Linked DNA regions of Homo sapiens: all the other regions are linked to region 1. The links are contacts of gene promoters, found by promoter capture Hi-C in blood cells and fetal thymus (Javierre and others, 2016). All regions are on one chromosome and are shown on one strand. Each heading gives the region's core, a stretch centred on a gene start or on the middle of the fragment in contact. The rest is flanking DNA. Distances are from core to core; before and after follow the strand shown. Region 1 holds the start of PTPRC (protein tyrosine phosphatase receptor type C). Region 2 overlaps NEK7 (NIMA related kinase 7). Region 3 holds the start of LINC01222 (long intergenic non-protein coding RNA 1222). Region 4 overlaps MIR181A1HG (MIR181A1 host gene).

What was found. Contacts are between HindIII fragments. The CHiCAGO score rates a contact against its expected background, and 5 or more counts as called.
Region 2: a contact is called between a fragment that was not itself captured here and the fragment with the promoter of PTPRC in region 1, in 1 of 17 cell types (total CD4 T cells). The highest score is 9.1, in total CD4 T cells.
Region 3: a contact is called between a fragment that was not itself captured here and the fragment with the promoter of PTPRC in region 1, in 1 of 17 cell types (fetal thymus). The highest score is 7.0, in fetal thymus.
Region 4: a fragment that was not itself captured here is called in contact with the fragment with the promoter of PTPRC in region 1 in 1 of 17 cell types (fetal thymus); the score reaches 7.0 in fetal thymus.

Annotation. Positions count from the first base shown.
Region 1 is chr1:198,636,926-198,642,221 of GRCh38, reverse strand. It overlaps PTPRC (protein tyrosine phosphatase receptor type C), which reads right to left and starts at 3,182. Exons shown (of 33, transcript NM_002838.5): 1 at 3,085-3,182; 2 at 2,881-2,996. The coding sequence starts at 2,953. The HindIII fragment of the contact is 4,281 bases long and covers 1,622-5,296 here.
Region 2 is chr1:198,176,324-198,181,619 of GRCh38, reverse strand. The region is part of intron 1 of NEK7 (NIMA related kinase 7); the gene reads right to left. Among named protein-coding and RNA genes, the nearest start is that of NEK7, 22 kb to the right of the region's middle. The HindIII fragment of the contact is 153 bases long and covers 2,669-2,821 here.
Region 3 is chr1:199,013,928-199,019,223 of GRCh38, reverse strand. It overlaps LINC01222 (long intergenic non-protein coding RNA 1222), which reads left to right and starts at 260. Exons shown (of 3, transcript NR_110525.1): 1 at 260-442. LINC01221 (long intergenic non-protein coding RNA 1221) reads right to left here and starts at 3,091. Exons shown (of 3, transcript NR_126351.1): 1 at 2,759-3,091. The HindIII fragment of the contact is 1,341 bases long and covers 2,272-3,612 here.
Region 4 is chr1:198,931,369-198,936,664 of GRCh38, reverse strand. All of the region lies in intron 1 of MIR181A1HG (MIR181A1 host gene), which reads left to right. Among named protein-coding and RNA genes, the nearest start is that of MIR181A1HG, 3.4 kb to the left of the region's middle. The HindIII fragment of the contact is 5,909 bases long and covers 200-5,296 here.

The DNA.
Region 1 (5,296 bases), core at 1,933-4,432:
TAGCAAATAGTCCAGAACAAAGAAAGAACTAAGTTCAAGCTAACTACTCTGCCCCTATACTTACTTACACAGAACAAAAGAGAAAAAGATAATATAGGCCCTAGCCGTAGTCTTTCCTGTAACAAAGTACATTTCAAACTTTAGCAATGATAAAGGTCACAGGCAGGTTTTTAGTAGGACATTTTTTTTCAAATTAATAAGTAATTCTAATCACATTCCCAAATCTCTAAATTATGGAGTATTTAGAACTTAATAGGACTGCTTACCAAATTCAATTAAATAATTTTCATTGAATGTCTGTGATGTGCAAGGCACAGTCCATGTTTATAACATGAGATATATATTTTTAATACAGATGGAAAAATGAAGAATTATGTCCAGGAAATGAGTCTTAACTGTTATGACTCATAACAAAACTCATCATATACCTCACATACCATAACTCATATACTCCTAACTGCCATGCTATAGTGTGGTAGATCTGCCTGGCATTACAACTTTATTAGAACCAGAGAACACTCACCTTCACCTGCCTTCTTAAAACCATCATTGTCCCCTAACATTATTTAGAAATTCTAAACAAAGTTTGGCTTCCAGTTGCCATGGCAAAGAGGCACAGAGCAAGAGGATTAGGAAGTCTTGAGTAAAACTGAACCCTGCCTGGTTGTTGCCGTGGCAAAGATTAACTTTGGCCTTGTCCGTGTGTGCATTTTAGATATTAAATAAAATATTTGAATTATGCATAGAGTTACCATTGATGGCTCTCTACATTTGGCTCTATTTCTTTATGCCTTTACAGCATACAATATAAATTTTGTTCCCCAAAAGTTTATTATTTCCTGTAGGCACTAAACTAATTTTAACACGTTAAAATGAAACATAGAATCCAACTCATTTGTTGCTAAAAAAGAAAAATAAATAATTTAAAGCATTAAGAATTTTCCAAATTATACATTAAATCACAAAATGTTTCTTGCAACTTGAAAGGATTATAAACAATATTTGCAGATACAAATGATTATATCTGTATATGTTTTTCCACAAATAAGCATATATCTCAGGGAGTCTACAAATGTCTTTTAGAAAAATGTTTGCTCTCAATATTTATGTGAGCAACTGAAGATAAAGTTGAGTTTTCAAAATAAATTTATGTATATCCATTTATTTGCTATGGTATAAATCATTCAGCAAAGTTGATATAAAGGTTTCTAGACCCCATCATATTATTTCAATTATAAATTCAAAGATGTGTCTTATGGTTAAAAAAACATCCTGTAATAGAATGAGTTGAATTTTTATTCACAAAGGAAATATTTCACACTCTGATTTAAGCATATAATAGGATATTTGGTCTATTCAGGAGGTTGGGAAGTTTGCCTGGAATAAAAAGCAATGGAGCTAGACCTGAAGAAAATAATAGAAGTTAAATGAATATGAAGAGAAGAAAAATATTCTGGCTTACAAAATGTCTCAGTATTTCTTTATGCTCATTTAAAAATGCTTTTCGACATTTCCTGAGTGGGAATTTTAAATGAAAATCTGTTCTGATTTGTGATAATATACATATATCACTTCATTGAGATTATTATTCTTTATAATTTACTTTTTATTATCATAAGCTTTAAAGGGATGGTAACTTGATAAACATTTTCTGTACTAAGACAAATGCTGCAAATATATAGATTTTTAAAAAATTCACCTTTGCAATAAAAAGCAAAACAGCCACAACAACAACAACAAAAATCTTATGTTGTTTTTCTTTCCTCTTTCTTTCCTCTCCAAATAGAAATTGTCAATGTAACATGCTCAAGAGGTAGCTACTTCCCTGACTTTCAGAGGAAAGAAGAACGGTAAAAGTCAAAAAAAGACTTCAAAGTGAATTGTAATAAGCAAGTTGTTTTAAAATACTTTTTATACTTTTTGGAATTTCTACAAAAATTTTATTTTCAATGTCCTTTTAGATACTACATCATAAAGAGAAATATTAAATATTAATTATTAGTTACATTCTATAATCTATTGAAATGTACTCATGATTCATATTGACGCCGCTCAAGAACTATCCATTGAATAGACCATAAATGTGCAAAGATTTCAAACTTTAATAGGCACTGGAAGTCCAACTAGTTGCATTTTCCTACTGAATACAGCATTTGCATGATTTTTAAGAGTTTAAATATTTCTATCTCATCAAGGCTGTAATATTTACCCACCACCCAGGAAGGGCGGTGGCTCCACAAGAATTTCTAAAGCAAAAATGTATTAAAACTATTAACAAGAAACTAAAAACTTGATTTAAAATACATTCTGTGATAAAAATTGCAGAAAGTTAATATTTTACTAAATATCTCAATATATTTTTGAACTATTATATACCCAAGTATTCAATAAAATATGTCAATTAAATTCAAAATTTGAGGAAGCAAACTTCAGGTCTGAAAAGAGGGAGTGGCTTACATACAACCAAAGCTGTTTTATGACTTTTTAAAAGATCAAATTTGTTAAAAGAATAAAAACTCACTTATTTTATCATTAAAAAATTCTCAGGCTTTTATAAATGTGTGTTATTGTCACTTTGGAAGTTAAGTAATAATGTTGCTTTTGTAATATCTTTGAACAGTTGTAAATAAAGATACAGATAGACATTGCTTTCCTTTTAAAATTGTATTTTTTGTCCCGAAACATTTATGTCTTTGTAAACAGAAACAATGTATTCTGTCACACAACTAGCTATGTCTCCCTGAGACAACAATCTTGATGGTTTACAGCAGGCTTCTCACTTCCAGTTACCAACACATTTAAATTATTTTTATGTCTATTTCAAACATTCCTCCAAAAGAGAAAAAATAATTTAAAAAATATTAATATCCTTGTACTTACCTGTCACAAATACTTCTGTGTCCAGAAAGGCAAAGCCAAATGCCAAGAGTTTAAGCCACAAATACATGGTCATATCTGGAAGTCAGCCGTGTCCCTAAGAAACAGCATGCGTCCTTCTGAAAAGCAAAATAATTGTTATCTCTGTAGAAGTTTTTCTCTGTAAAAACGAATCAAAAATGTAAAAGTAAATAAATAAATGCATACTCTCCACTGTTGTCTTATCAGACGAGGAACAATTTCCTCCTCTGTTACCCTAAGAACAAACCACTTGCTAGCTGCATGAACTGCTAGGTGATGATGTCAGATTCGGTTTTACTAACTTCTCCAAAAATACTGTAAGGGTCCTCTTTGCAGGAAGTCAAAAAAGTTGTTCTAAGTCAGTAGAATGGCATTGCACTTCCTTAATTCAAGTAATTACACCAAGTTAGAAAGCCTTTTAAAAGATTTTCCCATCAAGGAAGATGTTTTTAAACCATCCAAATAATGCTCCTTTACAGTATCCATTACCATTTTTTTTAAATTAAATCCCCACAAAATAATCAATAATTTTCTTACTTAAGAGATGACAAACAGATTCAGCATAAGTATAACAAAATGGGTGTTGGCAAGATGACTTAGTAGAAAGTATCAATATTTGACTTACTGAGACGGCCAAATGAATGAAAAAACTACTAATCTGGTTATTTTTGGCAACCCAGTATCATTTACCATTAGGGCATTCAAAACTCAGCAATATGACAGTTTTAGCAGTAAAACCCATTTCTTATGCAAAAGCACTTTCAGACAGCTTAACAGTTTTGCCCCAAATCTTTCACAGATATCCTTGTGAAGCTAGGAGTGGAATCAGAATGTCATTTCTACTATAGTTACAGCAAACCCTGCTTCCAAAAACTAATGTTTCTGTGACTTAAGATGTTCTTGGCGCTACTGATGAGGGAAAGGACAGTGAAAACCAAGAGATACCTTTAACAAAAGTTAACTTGTTTCCTTTTTCTCAGCAATACTTTTTCAACTTTTTTAACAAATAAGACAATGAATTGTATTAACACAATGCTCTTCACCATTCTGATGTTCTTAGTTAAGTCCATCTATTAGGAAAATGCTTACTGGCAAAAAGTATAAATTCAACAATACAATTAGATGAATTGGTTTTATTAATACAATATCTATATGCCTTTAAAAATAAAAGTACACACATGTGCAACTCATTTATTTGAACAATAGATAATGCTTGGGGGACTTTTAGACAGACAGAGCCCTTGTGGTAATTCTGCAAACCCTAGTTTGGAAGCATTATTGTAGGGTTCTTATATTTAAGTAAATAAATCTTTTGATACTTACAAACTTTTTTGTTTTACTCTTACATTGGCTGCTAGGAACTACAGAGCCAAATTTCTATCACACTTTGTGCAAATGGAAATAACCCCACAGCTTAAACTCTAGGTAATAACCTTTTAATAAGATTGTAGTTAAGAATATTATTTTACTATGATTATTATTATATTTAACTTATGGAGCACTTACTATGTGCAGGAACTATGCTTTGCACTTTACATATATTGTATAATTTGTACGATACCCTTGAGCTAGATAATGTTATTATTCCCCATTTTATCTGTGATGTTCAGAGAGGTTAGTTGAGTTGCCTAAGATCTTGCAGCTAGGATGTAGACAAGCTATATTTAGAACCCAAGTCTCCAAGTTTAATTTTGCTTTCCTTACTCACCTTACTATTGCCCTTTATTTTTCTCATCCCTTTTACCAATCTTTTTGTACTATGTAAGTTTATAATACTCGAAAAGATAGACCTTTGAATCAGTGAAAATGAAATTATTCTCTTTTTGCAAATGTATTTTTAAATAAGATAACTGTGCAAGTAAGCACTAATTTTCATGTGGGTAGGCCTAATAAAACATCAGTGTCAGAACTCATGGATTTGAATACTCAGCTCCTCAGCCTATGTCTTAAAATACATTTGCAACAGAAAACTCTTTGGGGATTTGCTTTAAATATCTTTAAGCAAATACTTGTGTTCTGTGAGCTTGCTGTTATGGCAGAATATTTGGCAAAATTAGAGGCCAGGAGAAAAGTGTATATGATCTTTTAAAAGGAAGAAAAGTATATAAAATATACTCTATAACAATGTGAGTTTAGCAGCCTTAAACGGACATTTTAAAAGGGATTTGTGGCTTTAAAAAAATAGTAAGAAGTTAGGAGATTCAATTCCATTTCAGACAGGTGAGAAGACAGATTCTACCCAAGGAATCCAAGATAGATTAGCAACAAATGAGTTGCATTATATGTGTTAATCCAACACATATATAATGTTTTAACATATTCATTGTGTTAAAATTGAGTTTAGTGTCTATAGGAAATACTAGAATTTTAAGCAGCAAAATCTGTACTGTGTATTATA
Region 2 (5,296 bases), core at 1,496-3,995, 460 kb after region 1:
GGGGGAAAAGCACTGGAATATGATACAGAGGATAAAAGTCTTAACCCACTTTACCAATAACTTTCTGTGTAATGTGTAATCAATCTCTGAGTCTTAGTTACTTCAAATACTAAGTGAAGGTGTTAGATTCCATGATAGATACCCAGTCTCAAAAGTTCACTCAATTCTAACGTCTTGTGAAATAAATAATCAAGTCATGCTGTATACATTGAGAGTTTACTGACAGGAACTTTGGGATGCTATGCATTAGTTACCTCCCAGAGCAGAGCCTCACTAGTAATGCATGATTAACTCCTAAGACACCCTTACTGAAGAATCTTCATGGAAGAGGGCACTATTGAAAAGAAGTCAATGATCAATTAATTTGAAATCAAAAACACCAAGAAGTTTTTATCTGCTTAGAGTTACATGTCAAGTATATGGTTGACCTAACAAAAAAAACTAAGATAATGCTTAGTTTGCTGGATTTGTTGTTGCTGTTTTTCTGAACTATTTAAAGATGATACTATGGTCTAAGAGTCCAATTTATAATTAGTTATCTCATCAAAGTAGCATGGTGATTATCATGTGTTTAAAGTTAATAGGAAAACTATAGAAAATGGGTGACCTTCTTGGTTTGATAACTTGTCCTATTTTGACCTTTTCCACATAGATATCTCTCTTACACTAGAAAATAAGTCAATCATATTATGAATGTATATTTAAGGCATCATTTTATAAAGCATTTTATAGACAGTTTTTCCTATTAGAAATCAACATTAAAAAATGTGTGAGCTATAAGCCCATTACTTATTCACACTTTTATTTTTAGTAAATGACTATATGAACATAATTTATTTAATAAGGCTGTGAATTTGTTTTCTCAAAGTAAAAATTAAATGTCCTCTTACTGAAAATACTCCATGTGTGTTCTCATTGCAATTCTTCCACAAGCAAAAGCAACACATCATTGGACTACCTCCCTAAAAGATTATGATAATTATCAAAAATTAGTACAAGGTCAAAATTATCAGCAAGAAAATGTTGTACCCAAAGGGGGAAAATGTGTTAAATAACAACAACAAAAATTATGAATTCTAGCCCTGTCTCTATCACCACCAAGCAAATGCAAGCTTCTCAATGCCCTTCCTATACCATCTGTCAAGTGAGGAAAAGCCTGCCCATTCCTCAAGCAAACTGTTACAAAGGAAAGAAACCTCATCCAAACCTCTTCTCTCATATTTTCATCTAGCTATACAGTTAAAACAACAGGTCTCAGCACACATCCTGAATAAATTACTTTAGAATAAGGAATAAAATGTTAGTAACAATAATGATTCTAAATTATGATACTTCGTTATTGATTAATTTTCTCTATGATGCAAAGGCTTTTAAATATTAGTACAAACTGAATGCTTACTTTTAACTGGAAGCACCCCCCCACCAAAAAAAAAAAGGGAGGTGTAGAAATCATGATTCTCTCTGGCCGTGATTTTTAAGGTTTCTAAATTTTATGTTTATATGTACTCTTCTAGCAAAATAAGCATCAATATGCTTTATTGACATTTTACACTTATCATTTTGTACTTTTCAAAAAGTTTCCACAGATATCTTCTCAAAACATCACAGTGGAGTGAGTGGGAAATAATTTCCAGATTACAGACAAGAAACTCCAAAGAAAGAAGTTACACAACTTAACCAAAATTACACAAGGAGAAAGCAAAGAAACTCAGGTTTCCTGACTCCTATAAATCAGGTTTAAGTTCAGTCTACTTTGTGTGTTTACACACACGTGTCTGCACACATACACACACACACACATACATACACACACACACACACTCCTGTGTAACTGTAGGTTCTTCCTGGCAACAGGAAGACTGCAGAAATCTGCATACGAACAAAATTTTCTTAAACTCTGTAAAGCCACAATTGAAGGATAGGGTTTCACAGACTATAAAGGCAGTCCTCAAGACCACAGAAAGACTGTTTAGCCCAAAATCCAACCACATCCTGGAGAGTCTGTCCCAGCCTCAGGTCCTAAAGTCCCTTGATTTTCCTACATGAACACTTCTATTCTGTTGGAGCCATCCTCATGCATCTTGCTGTACACCAAAAATAATCCTTTTTTTAGAGTATTATACCACCTTACTGTTCAAGAATCTGTATGAATTCTCTGTCACTTAACTGTTAGACCAAATTTAAATTCATCTTAAGAATTCAGGGCTTACTGGATAAAAAAATAAAGCAAACATAAAGGCCCATAATGAAGAATGTCTATTTAAGTTTTGAAAAGCCATGCATGTTCTACATTTTTAAAAAATGTTTTACACACACAACACACAAATTTCCTAAAATCCACTGTAACTTGAAAACTACATGAGGATAGGTTTCCAAATAATGTTTTCATTTAAGAAATCACTATAGTATATAGAATGCCTAAAAATGCAAGGCCTTATATTAGAATTGGCAACAGAAAATGTAAAGATTAATATATTTCCTATACTCAATGAGTTTAAATTATAGCAGTTGAGAAGAAATAAGGACAAACATATGAAATTACAGTATGTTTTTATATTGACCATATCCCATATCAAATGACAGTCTCAATTTTCTAAGAGGCTTTTCCTTAAAAAAAAAAGGGGGGGGGTATCAAATGGTATCAAATGCTTTTCTATTCTACTAAGCTTATCTCACAAATTTTCTTACTGAACCAAATGAGATAATGAATCAAATAGCTAGATCTCTTCCATTATATTATCTTTATATGCTCAGATAAACCTTTATCGGTCATGACTGATGACTCTTTAACTGTACCATTAGTTTTAATTTTATTGAAGCTTTGTGTATCTACAACCATAAGTGCTCTTCAAACTCTGCTCTTTAAAACACTAGAATTCCAGGAGTTGTTAATCTGTATTCCATGACAACAACAACAACAACAACAACAACAAAAAATGGCAGGGAGAGGGTCCATGAACAAATGAATCTGCAAAATACTGGGCAAAATAAAGTCAAGTTGGTTTCTTAGCTATAAGACTTCTCAGGGATCCAATTACACTAAAGTGCACTGTAAACCCCAAAAGAGTACCCGATGCAGATTTTTCCAAACTTGTCTAGCCACAAAATTCTCCTACAGAATTTCTATTATCTTGGAAAAGTCTGGTAATCTGTTGAACACAGTCTGGTCAATATTCGACCAACATATCATCCTTTGGGCCAAATTTTTGCAGGCTTTGATATTAATATAGTAACTCAAGAGCATGAACTGAAAGATTCCTATTCATTTCGATTTAAAAGTAAAAAACGTTAAAAACAGGACTATAAGTCTAAGTGGGAAGGCAGCTCATATTACTTTAATTCTTCCATAGTCATTAGTCTATTAGTTATTAGGGCTTGAGTCGATTTATAAAGTTGTTCTTTCTCTTATTTAGTGATTTTCTTCATTAAACTCTACTTTAAAATTTATATTGCTACTCCTCTGTGTTTTCTGATGTATTTTCCTTATAAATCTTGGCTACCTTTTTATTTTTAACCTTTCTAGGTTGATTCGTTCTAAGAATATCTTTTGAAAGCAGCACATAGTTGAGGATCTCTCTTTAATCTGAGTCCTTTTAAAGGGAAATTTAATATACTGTATACAAATTGTTTTGTTGACACTTGTCTTTTATATTCTTAATTCTTATGTTTCTGTGCTATTTTTTTTCATCTCTTGCCACATGGACGATGTTTGCTTGCTTGATTTTGTCTAGCCATTTAGAAAACAAACATATCTTTTCTTATCTTAATTCCACTAATGGTGATTCCAAGTTATTTAAAGGCCTCCTTTAACCAGACTTTTTGTTCATTATCAAAGTAAAACTGAAATCCTTCTTCTGGCACACAACCCGAGGTTAGCTGAGGAACTGATCATGCCATCACTCTTCCCTTTCCCCCAACACTTCATTCCCAGTTCTCAGATTATAAGTTTTATAACCATACCCTTTTTAAGTTATTCTGACATTTTGTACTATTTCCCATCTTGCAAAACAAGTATTTAGTCTTGCTTCTACATTTAAAAAAAGCATTTCAATGCTTTTTCTCAATGATTTTGTACAAACATGTCCCTTTCCCAAACTCTTAATAGTACATTTTCAAATAATTTTTGAAGAGCTCATATGTGATACATTGTCTCTGAACGTTGAAAATAAAAAAAGTAATTCTATTGCCATCATACATGAACAATAATTTGGCTGTGTATGCCCTTTTTTAGCCACAATCCTCTGCTTTGATTTTGTTAGGTCTCTGAAGTAATTGTTCCATTACTTCTGGCATTTTGTGATACTGAAGAGAACACTTTGATCCCTTCCAATTCTTGGCTGAAGAACAGTAATTTACTTTCATCAATTATTGGTTCAGAACTGTGTGTTTACCTACTACTACTTAATATAGTACTTGCTTGAAGTAAATCAAGCTAGCAATGTGAATCACTACATAAAGAGCATAATAAGGAAATTATTTTATCTACTTTTATCGTTTCTACACAAAATGAGTCTTTTGCTCTGTGATCAATAAACAAGTCTGCTGATTCTCTTGTTTAAGTTTCCTTTAATGGTAAGTCCCTTGGTTATTTAAATCAATAATCACACATTTTCAGCTGGACATAACCTGCCTCCTACATACTGACGATTTATAAACCTGTAGCTCCAGAATCTCATTTCCAATTATATTGCATCTTTCTGCCTAATATCCTAAACCTAACATGTCTAAAATCTTGAACACTCTAAACTGTTTCTACTCTGTATTTCCTTTCTTAGTGAATGGCATTTTCATCCAGTCACCCCCTACATTGTTATCCGTCATCCCCTACGGTCCCTAGGTCATACCAGAAACTTTTACTCCCTTACCTCTACGTAAGTCCTCAACTCCTACTAATTCTGCCTCACAAACATCATCACTCTGTTTATCCCAGACCCTCATGATCCTTGCTACTATTAAAATCTACTAACTGCTCTTCCTGATGTTAGTAATGAAATTCTTATTCTACATACCCATTATATATATATATATATGATAAATCTAAGATGAAAATCTATGTCATAAGCCTGCTTAAAACTCTTTAATGAATAAAACATAATCTCCTCAACCTCACTCCTTACTTGCCAGCTACTTTCCCCCACATAAGTACCATACTCTGGCCTTAATGTGAACCACTTATACTTCCTCCAAATGCCAAGTTATTTAATACCTATGTGCCTCTGACACAGACAATGGCATCATACTGAAATACTCAACCCAGCTAGTCAGCCTGGTCAACCTTGCTTGGTACTCAGGTAGC
Region 3 (5,296 bases), core at 1,693-4,192, 380 kb before region 1:
TTATTTCTACCGATGAGGAAATAGGCTTAGAGAGTTTGAGTAATTGCCTAAAGTCACATAGCAAATGAGAGAAAAAGCCAAAACTTAAGAGTTAGGAGGTAAGCTACAGCAAGGCCTCTGTATCTTACTGTTCCACTCATCCCTTCAAAACATCTACTAAGGGCCAGGCACTAGGTTTATGCCGCTTACTTTTGGTTGGGTGTGGCTGACATCAAACCAAAATAAATATATATATACACCTACATACACAAAGGATGACAGCTCAGATGGAAATTAAGCAGGGGTAACATTATGGGCAATGCTTGGAAGATGGCAGCTACTTTTGGGTTGGTGACCTACAAAGACTTCTCTGAGATGGTGACATTTAAGCTAAGATTTACGTGTCAAGAAGGAAATAAGCATAGGAAGATAAAGGGGGAGCAGCTGTGACCATAATGCAGAGGTAAATCTTCAGATATTCAAGGACATTCAAGGGCCAGAATGTTACCAGTATAGCTATCACACCCTGAACTAAGGAAGTTCAGGGTGTGATATGATAGGAACTAAGGAAGAATGATAGGCATTGACATTAGAGAGGCTGAGGCAGGGACCAATCAAGTAGGGTGTTGAGCAGCCAAGTAATTTGGTTTATCCTAAGTGTTATGGAGAGATATTGGAGTGTTTTAAGTAGCAGAATGGCATAATCTGGGTTTCATTTTAAATGGATTACTCTAGCTGTTCTGCAGGAAAGTGGGTATAGGTGGGGAAAGGAGATGAAATCTATATTCATAAGAATTACATGTGGATACTTATATGTGCAGATTCACAGAAAATTATAGGCATATTGAATTTAAGACATTTAAATTTTAAAGAATGTACTCATGATAATGATAATGTTGAAATTATTACCTTGCAGAGAAGCACAAAATCAGAGTATATGCTTTAAAAATCTCCCATTCAATGAAAAGCTATTGAAAGTAAATTTGTAGATTTTTTTAAAGTATTTTAGCAAACAGCATTATGAAAAGTATATTTACAATAATGCAGAATTTAATGTGTTCCTTTAAATAACGTATGTTATGACTTTTTTGACAATAGCACTTCACAGGCTTTATGACTCATGCTTTAAAGTCATATTCCAAAATGACAACACAAATTGTAGTGAGTGAATATGTTTTGGATGTAGACTGATTCAATAGCAGTTTCTGAATGCTAAATGGAATGGTTTATACTTAAAGGAAGCATATTAGAGAGTAAAGCATTAATTTATTGTGAAGCTTTTATTCCTTCTTTTATTTTTGATATTTTTGAAATAGACTACCATTTTTAAATCTCTTATCACAAAAGATCATTTTCATCTTACTCTTAGCAATTTAGAGGTGTTTATCAAACACATTTGGTGTGATACTGGTTCTACCAGGGTTATATAGTACAGATCTAAAAATGTTATTTTTAAAAACCATAGTTCTATAGATAAATAATATTTGAATAAATGAAAATTTAGAAAAGTGTCCTGAGTCTCCGTTACATCTAAGCAGTTTTCAGAACAATCTTATATCTTTGATACACTGGCACCTACTGCTATTAGGAAATGAGCTAATTAGTATAGAATAAGGATATAATAATCATGACTTCTCAATATAGACAGAAAACTAGTACATGAAGACATGTTCCTAGGAGAAAACATGTATAAATCTGCTTATATTTTAATGGTATTACCATATGTAATATTAAACATTATTCCAATTCTCTTTACTATTCAGCAATTCTTATGAAAGTACAGCTACCTTTCACATACAACATGGATGCTCCACAAAGCATAAACTCAGCCCTAGACTATCTTCCTGTTAATAGAAGATTGCTTTCATTTCACTTACTATTTTTATAGACTTTTTTGAAAAACTAAAAAAGGTTAAATTTTTATTTTATGCCCTTATGTAAGTTAATCAAAATCATTCTCCCAATGCAGACAACAGTTATGAGTGTAGCAGATAGAATGTTCATTATCAGTAGAAGACAAATATTGTAGACAATGGAGAAATAAAGTTAAACTGCTTTCCTTTCATTTTAATAGTAAGGCCCTTGTAAAACCTTTAGAAAACTATTATTTTTTACATAAAAATTAATTTCTAATTTTTTCTAATACTATGTATTTATATCATTCCTTTAGAAAAAACTTCTTATATTTCACAATGCAAAGGAGTTTGAGCAGGTTCTGAAAAAATAAATAATTGGAAGTATGAGTCTATTTCTCTGCAGTATTTACTAGTGTGATACATTGCCCACTAAGCTTGTCATTGTATAAAACAGAAAGTTAGCATATATTTTAATCTTCCTAGCACCGAAATATTTAGGCTCAAATATTTTGTAAAATGTTATTTAGTTAAAGTATTTATTGAGCTATTAACATATTCAAAGCAACGTGTTGGATCCCTTGTTTTTAAAGATGAATCAAATAAAATTCCGCGTTTTAGAAGGTTATGGTCTAAAAGAGAAGATAAGCACCCATAATAAAAATGTAAAAGAAGTATGTTCATAGAAGCAGATCTAGTAAGGTGATGTTGGAGTTGAGAGATGGGATAGATTGCTTCCCAAGACATGAGGATACTTCTTGGAGTAATTGGCATTGAGTTATAATGTATGGTAGAGTTAAAATATATGATCATATAGAGAAAGACTTTTCAGACATAATGCAAAAGCAAAAGGTGAGTAGTAGTTTTCTATTGCAGAATAAGAAATTATCACTAATTTGCAGTTTAATATAACACACATTTATTACCTTAAAATTTCTGTGTATCTGGAATCTGGGAAGAGCTTAGCTGAGTCCTCTGTTTGGGGTGAACAAGATTGCAAAAAGGATTTGCCTGGAAGTACAGTCTCATCTGAAACTCAACTGGAGAAAGATTCATTTTCGTTGGCAAAATTTAGTTCCTTGCAGTTAAAGGACAGAGAATTTCAGTGTCTTGTTGATGTTCAACTGGAGACCATCCTCAGCTCCTAGGGGCCACCCTAAGTTCCTTGTCACAATGGTCACCCAACATGCAGCCTACAACATGGCAGTGTAGTTCTTTAAATCCAGCCAGGAAAAAATAAACTTTAACAAGATGGTCACACCATCTTCTCTACATAATCATAAATATGTAATCACATTCCCCCTGTCTTGTATCCTATTGGTTAGAAGCAAGTCACAGGTCATGGTCATACTCAGGGGAAAGTACTATTCAAGGCCATAAATGTCAGGAGATGGGGATGATGGGGGGCCACCACAGAGCCTATCCACCACAGGGTGGAAGGTGAAAGTTTTGGTTTAGCTGAAGGGTGTGACACATGTACGTGGGACAATCAGGTTGGAAAAGAAATTTGGGTTCAGGTTGTGGAAAGAATTGAATGCCCTACACTGGAGTTGAACGTTATATTTTATATACAAGAGGAAACCATTGTTACATTTTTGAATAGTAGGGGAAACTTAATGGAACTAGGCTTCAGAAAGTTTAATCTGGAAATGAGTTGTAAAATGAATAAGGAAAAAATAATTGGTTTAGGAATAAAAGTTAATATATTAACTTGTTGAAAGAATGAAATAATGAATATTGTAGAAAATATGACTATAGAATTGGAATTTAAAATGAAGCTTGTTTCTTAAACTGAATTACAAAAAGGAAGGGTGATCAGCAACTCACCCATTCCTTACCAGGTCAAAATTACAGGCTTCCCTTTATACACGCATGTAATGTAAAATGTTCTTTGGGAAATGTCTCTATAAGAAGGAGAGGTAGGTCTGTGAGACACTCAGGTGTGGAAAATGAGACCTCATGATACTCATCAAGGGGAAGAAAGGTGAACCTTGTAAACATAAGATACCATCTTTAAAAGACCATATATTAAAAAAGAGTAACAGTAGTATGTCTAGGAAAATACTGGATACTGGATGTGCATTATTTTGTGTAATTAAAAAAATTTCACTCTATTGGAAGCACCATCAAATTAAAGAAACACTGACTTTTCATGAGCATCATATAAGGGAAGTGGAAATCAGGATAAAGAAATAGGATAGGTGGAAATAAATAGAACTTGACAGTAAAGAAACATCAGAGAGAGATAATAGTAATAATTGACATTTTTAATGTAGGCAATTAGGAGGTTAGTAATAACCAGAAGGATATGTTGGAAAAAGAGTAGGTTTTAGGGCTACAAGAAAAGTATTGGCTTATATATACTAAATTTAAATGGTTTTCAGAACTGTTGCTGAAGATGTACAATGCACACTAGAACCCACAGGCAGTCAGGAGGAGACAGGTGGATTCTTGGAAGTCACTAGGTAAAGGTGACAATTGAGAGTATAAGACTGAGCAAAATTACCAAGGAAGTGAGTGTGGTTAGAGAAAAAACAAAGACTATGAGCAAATCTTTATAAAGTATCTATATCTCAAAGATGGGATGAGGAAGCAGAGTTGGAAGAACTTGAGAGAGAAGAAAAAGGAAGAGTGATCCTAAAGGTAGTTAAAAACAACAAAGCGAGTAGAGTAGTAGCTCAAAGGAGAGAATCATCTAACTAAGAGATGCAAAGTTGAATCTTTAGAGTGGTCAAGCAAATATTGCAGCAAGCCAAGTCTAAAGTAATAAGAAGGCATGGGACAAAGAAAAAGTGAAATGCATGTGACTCATATAAAGTAACTGACTTCAAAAGAAATATATTTTTTAAAAACAATGTCCTTACGGAAAATACATTGCTATCTTGATTTGGTCCACAGGGTGCCTGTTGGTGATCTCTAGTCTGTAGTAATGTATAATCCAGAGAACAGAAGTAGAATGAAATTGAAGAAAACCATTGTTTCACAAGTAAGAGTTTCTTAATCATCTCTTCGTGAGAGATGTTTTATTAAATGGTGGAAGCAGAAACTGAAGCGTAAGATTTAAGGAGAAAGTGAGTGATCAGGAAGCAAAAACCTTGTCTGATTTTATAGTAATGTAAAACTTGAAAAAACTCTGTCATGTAGTCGTGAAAACAGCCATGAGAAGGTTATGGCTGGTCACAGACAACAGGGGAATGATGAGGCTAAATACTGTGTCCCCATTGGAGACAACAAAGAGCTTCATGAGGCTAATGCAACAGTCAGAGCTGGGAGTGGGAATCAGCAGCAGTAGCCAAGGAGCAGAAGTCCAGCCAAACCTATTGAATGGTATCTTGCTGGTGAGTAGGCTACTTCAAAATCACTATCCATTCCACCTCACCAGCTTCCCCACAGATTTCAAATGCCACCCAGATTTTCAGTGAATAATTTACCTTGGGAAGGCGATGAGAAGTTATTAAAGGGGC
Region 4 (5,296 bases), core at 1,905-4,404, 290 kb before region 1:
GGTGTTGTAGTCCACACAATGTGAAATAAAGTCCCAGCAGAAGTGAAGGCGACTGAAAGTGGCCAGTGTAAAGACAGAAGGAAAAGACAGCTTTCTGTCTTAGGATCTAGCCTTCCATGTATAAAGATTTTTTTTTTTTTTGAAATTCCTAATAGGGTGGAGTGAGGATGTGGGGGTGGGGAGGAAGCATGCGGAAGCTTCTTTATAGAAGAATGCTTGAAGAATAAAATAATTTGGCATTTCTTCTTTCTAGCAAGCAAAAGATATGATTAGCATCTAAGTTCCTTACATTCATAGTGAGGTTTTTTGATGGAGTTCAAACAGAAGCAACATACAATGCAGTTTTTAAATTTATAAAATAATTGGAAACAAATGGATAGAATGTTCCTGCATTACTGCTTTCTTTTTATATTCAGCTACAGTAATCTAGCAATACATTATGCCTTTACTTTTAGAATTATCCACATCCTTAAAAAGTTATAAGCTAAGTCTTATAAGAAATTAAAAGGCAAATCACACCAGTGTGATTATGACTGATGAAGATTTTGAATGACAAAGCCTCCAACAAAAAGAGTTTGTGAAAAACATTGTCCTCCTCATTTTTAAAAGAGAATATTAACTCCATCAATTATTGAAAGGAATTATTCAAAGGCTCCAGACATAACTAATTATGGCTTAAAGAGAGCTGCCAGAGCAGAGCCTGTGTTCTAATTATAAAAGTCCAAGACGTTAGGATTCATTTTCTTAAGGAGGGCTTGAAAATAAATACAAATTTTCACATAATCTTATAAAAATACACCATTTTTTTTCTTTGTCTGCTCTCATGTTATCTACACCTCCCCCACCGCCGCCCACTGTGTGCTGAGACACCTGAAGGCTAGACATAATGATCAACAGAGCTCCAGCCTGTCTGGACTCCAGCCAGATTTTTTTCCCCTTCTACAATCAAGGAGCTTGCACGCAATGCATGCCGAGCCTATTCCACTGCTATGTGCAGATCCGGGATGGAAGTCTTACACATACTGCGGAAAGATTAAAGACAACAATATCCCCTTTCTCTTACCCTAGACAGCCTCAATTTTTAACCCTTTCATTACCTTTGAAACCAAGACGTCTTACCCATTCAAAGGCAGGTCTCAAGGGACTTTGCAACTCCCGCACCACATCATACAGATGCACATGCCTCATTTGGTGTAGAAATCTCATCTCAACAGATCTTATCAGAATATTTTAGGAACTAATAGTGTGCTAACTAAACATAATGTAATTTGTTTGTGTGGGGAATGCATGTTTGAATGAACTTATGCTGCATGAAATCTGGAACAAGTCAAAGGTCTGTCGAAAGATTCTTGCAAACCTTGCAGAAGGTTATATACCATTTCTGATGATGCTGTTCTTTAAGCATCTTTCTCTCTCTCTCTCCTCACACACACACATACATACACACATACTCGCTCTCTTTTCTCTTTCTCTATCTCAAGATGCACACACTCAACCAGGAAATTATATCATTATATCACAGAGAAATCCAGGTTAGCTGGTGATGTCATCATATATAAAATTTTGCCTTTGTGGGCAACATTTTCAATCACCTAATCGCTAATGTATGTTGGGTGTGTGCCCATAGGAAGTTCACGTGCTCGTGGGGTTAACCGACACCCACAGGAAAGGACTATTTTATTCGCAGCTATCTTTCTTTTGAAGATGTGTTTATGGGGCAGGATGGGTATGTTTATCAAGATAGATGTAGTCAGAGTTTCCTGGTTCTAGGAAGCCTTATTAATATGCTGTTTGAACATTTGAAAGGTGGCTGAATTTCAATGATATAAATAGGATGTAGAAATGGTGAGCATTTTGAAATCAAGTTGGATAAAAATGCTACAATACTTCAATTTATTATGACTTGGTGTTTTTTATTCGCCACTTAACATTTTGTAACAATTAAATCCTTTTTACTTTTAACTTATTTCTTTAGGAGAGAACAGTTTTGTACCAATGATTTAGAAGTAATGCTCTCTCATGTGCTTTTATAAGGGTATATCTATGGATTAGATAGTAGTTGAATTAACTTTCGTGTGAGCTAGTTCAGGGTTTGTATTTATTTTCAAGTCTGTTTTATGGGTCTTATACTGGATAGTTACTCACCAAACATGTGCTCAGATTTTTATTAATGCACACATTTCAGTACATTATTTTATTTCACTCCAATAAAGTTTAATACTTTTACCAAAACATATTGCCAGATTTGAGAGGTAGATATAGAACAACTCTGTATACATTCTACCCCTTAACTACCAAGTTTTGATGTGTAATTTAAATTAATCTTCATTAGAATAGAATGACTGCTATACTTACCAGTTTTTACATACCACGTATCTGATACATGAGTTTTAAAATTTTGGAATTTGCTCTTAATACTTCTTCATTCTTGCGTACTAAAAAGCAATTAATCTGAAAGGAATTTCAAAGCATATATGTATAAACAGCACTACGTATATGTCAACAAATTAATAAGATTCATTTTGCCAATGTATTTTGTGACTGTTTTAAAACAAATGAAAAAATGTTTTGTTCTTTTTCTGCTTTCATGTTACTATTGTTAAGAAAAGTATGTAGCTAAAGAATTGACACATTTTGTACTTAGAGAAAACAAGCTACACAAGTTAGATGACAGTCTATAGGGTAAGACTCCACTATGAACTAATAAATAACTTCGTTAAGAAATTCTTGGCCTAACTCTGTAATTTTGACATAAACAGTTCTTCCAACATATAGTGGAAGATTGATGATTAATTATATAATTTCCTTATCAAAGATTAAAATGGGCAAATAGTTGTGTTTAAATTTTACCTACTTTCAAAAAACAATACATGACATTGCCCATTGGGTACAGGTTACTGAAAAGGCATCTTTCAAAGACAAGAAGATAATGGACTTGATTGAAATAGTTGAACTACGTAACGCCAATTCAAGAACAAATGGTTTTTCAGAGCATAACGGAGAAAGAACAATTTACTATAGTACAGTTTATTCTTCTTACACAATGGCAATGATTTATTTGAAATGGCAGAACAAACATAGTAGATATACAAAAACAACCAGTGGGCATTTTATGTCAAAGATATGTCAAGAGGCTTTTGTTTCATATATTAGAATATTTTAATCCAAGTATTTATCTGAAGACTTAGCTTAAATCTACATCGTTGTTTAGCATGTGCTGATATTATGATCATGTATGTCTCTTACATGCATGTAGCATATTTAGTATATATATATATGTATATATATATATAATGTATTTGAATATAGTCTTCTGACCCCAAATAATTGTTGTCACTTTATAATAAGAGTTCTTGAAGACTACTAATGTACTTCAATACAATAAAATTCAGATTGCGATATCAACTAGCTATGTCTATACTACCAGAAGGGCATTATCAGATATTGGATGAATTAATGTATTGATGTTATAATTACCACAAATACCTCATGTCAAAGAAGAATATCAAAAGATATGACTCTAATTTGACAAACAGTATAAAATGTGATTTTTAAAACCATCTCTGTTTCTTACTACCATGAAAATGATTTGCAAAAGAAGACTCAACACTTAAAATTTCTCTTCATGAAAAGAGAATTTTTTTTAACTTAGCCTTTAGGCATAGGGCCTGAAATTATTGTGAGTAGATACCTGAGCACTGTGCAGAGAATGCACAGGAACCTCAAGTTGCGATGAGAAAACAAGGGAAACTGGTTTGGCTGCTTTATGTTTCAAATTTTATTCTTGCAATCCTACATGACGACAATACTCAAAATTAATTTGAGTGAAAACTATCAAAGTTATTTTCACAATTTTCAAAAGATCCACTGTCTTGTTGACACTCTATGAAGGAAAAGTGTTCTAAAAATGATTGAATGTTCTACTGAGTGAAACTCAGTCAAGCTCAGTGAGGCGCTGGGGTCAAATGGGCTCATGAATCACAGATAGGAAATGAACTGTGTATTGCATATTTGAAAGTTTAAAAAGAAACATTTGGGATATTTTACCGTAAACAGATTTTGGTTTGATTTCTGGCACATCTTTTTAAACATCAAGACTGCAGTTCAGCTGAAATAACTTTTTATATGTATAGCTAAGACCAGATGGCCACGTGCTCCTTTCTTATTTAGATGAGACTTTTCCTTTCAATAACATCTTTCTTCCTGACCTGCTTAAAAATTCCAGCGAATGAAATCAGCACAGGATTTTCAATTCTAATTGACCATGTGCAGAGGAAGGGCCAGTAGAGAAATCAGTAGAGGCATTGTGAGGCTCACTGCCTCAGTTTTGTCTTTGTGTTTTACCATTACAAGCCAATCTAGACTAATCAAAAGCATTTAATTTTTATTAATATTAATATAGCTGCAAGATTTGTCTTCAATGAAAATTATTTGAGTTGGCTTTTTCTATCATTTTATCACAAGTAATTCTTTTAAGTTATTATTCGCTTACACAGTTTCAACTGTCTAGTAAGCACTTTATTGGTTAAAAAATAAAATATTGGTTGAATTAAGATGAAAGAATGGTTGTACTAAATTAATTTTTCTTGTTATTTAAAAAAACATTATTTTTGGAAGATACATATGCTTTTTAAATTTACCATGAAAATATTCACTATATAATATTCTTGGTTCATTATCTGTATAGTCATTTTATAAAGAAAATATTTTTATGTAAATTTTATTTGAACTTGGACCAGTAAAAAAAATCAAGAATAGAACGTGAGCTCCATATTCAGTATAGCTCAGCGAATTACGTATGTATTAAAAGTGGGCATCTAAGTTCCCAGAATTTTTTTCTTTTTGAAAAATTCTTGACTCAAATAATTATCTTAATTAATTACTGCAAAGAGTCAAAGATTTTTTTAAAAGACATTTATTATTCGAATGGTGAAAATATTAGATGAAAACAAGTTATCCAGACATATTGACATTTGTTTGCCTAATAAAGATAGAAAAAACCATAAACCAAAGGTGTATACTTTAAAAATATATAATAGAGTTAAGAAAAACTCCAAATTAATTATCAGGGTTTTTGAAGTGGTCTCAGGGCAACACTCTATCTGATTGGGTGTTCTTTGCTCATTCTTCATCAGGTACTTTATATCTCAAGCAAATCTATTAGTTGTCCAAAAATATGTGCTGCCTAATCATCAAAAGCCATGTTTTTTCAATTGTTTGAAAAGTGCAAGTCTTATGAATGATAAGATCAATTATAATTTTTTTAAATCAAAATTTCAGAGAAAACTGAACTGTA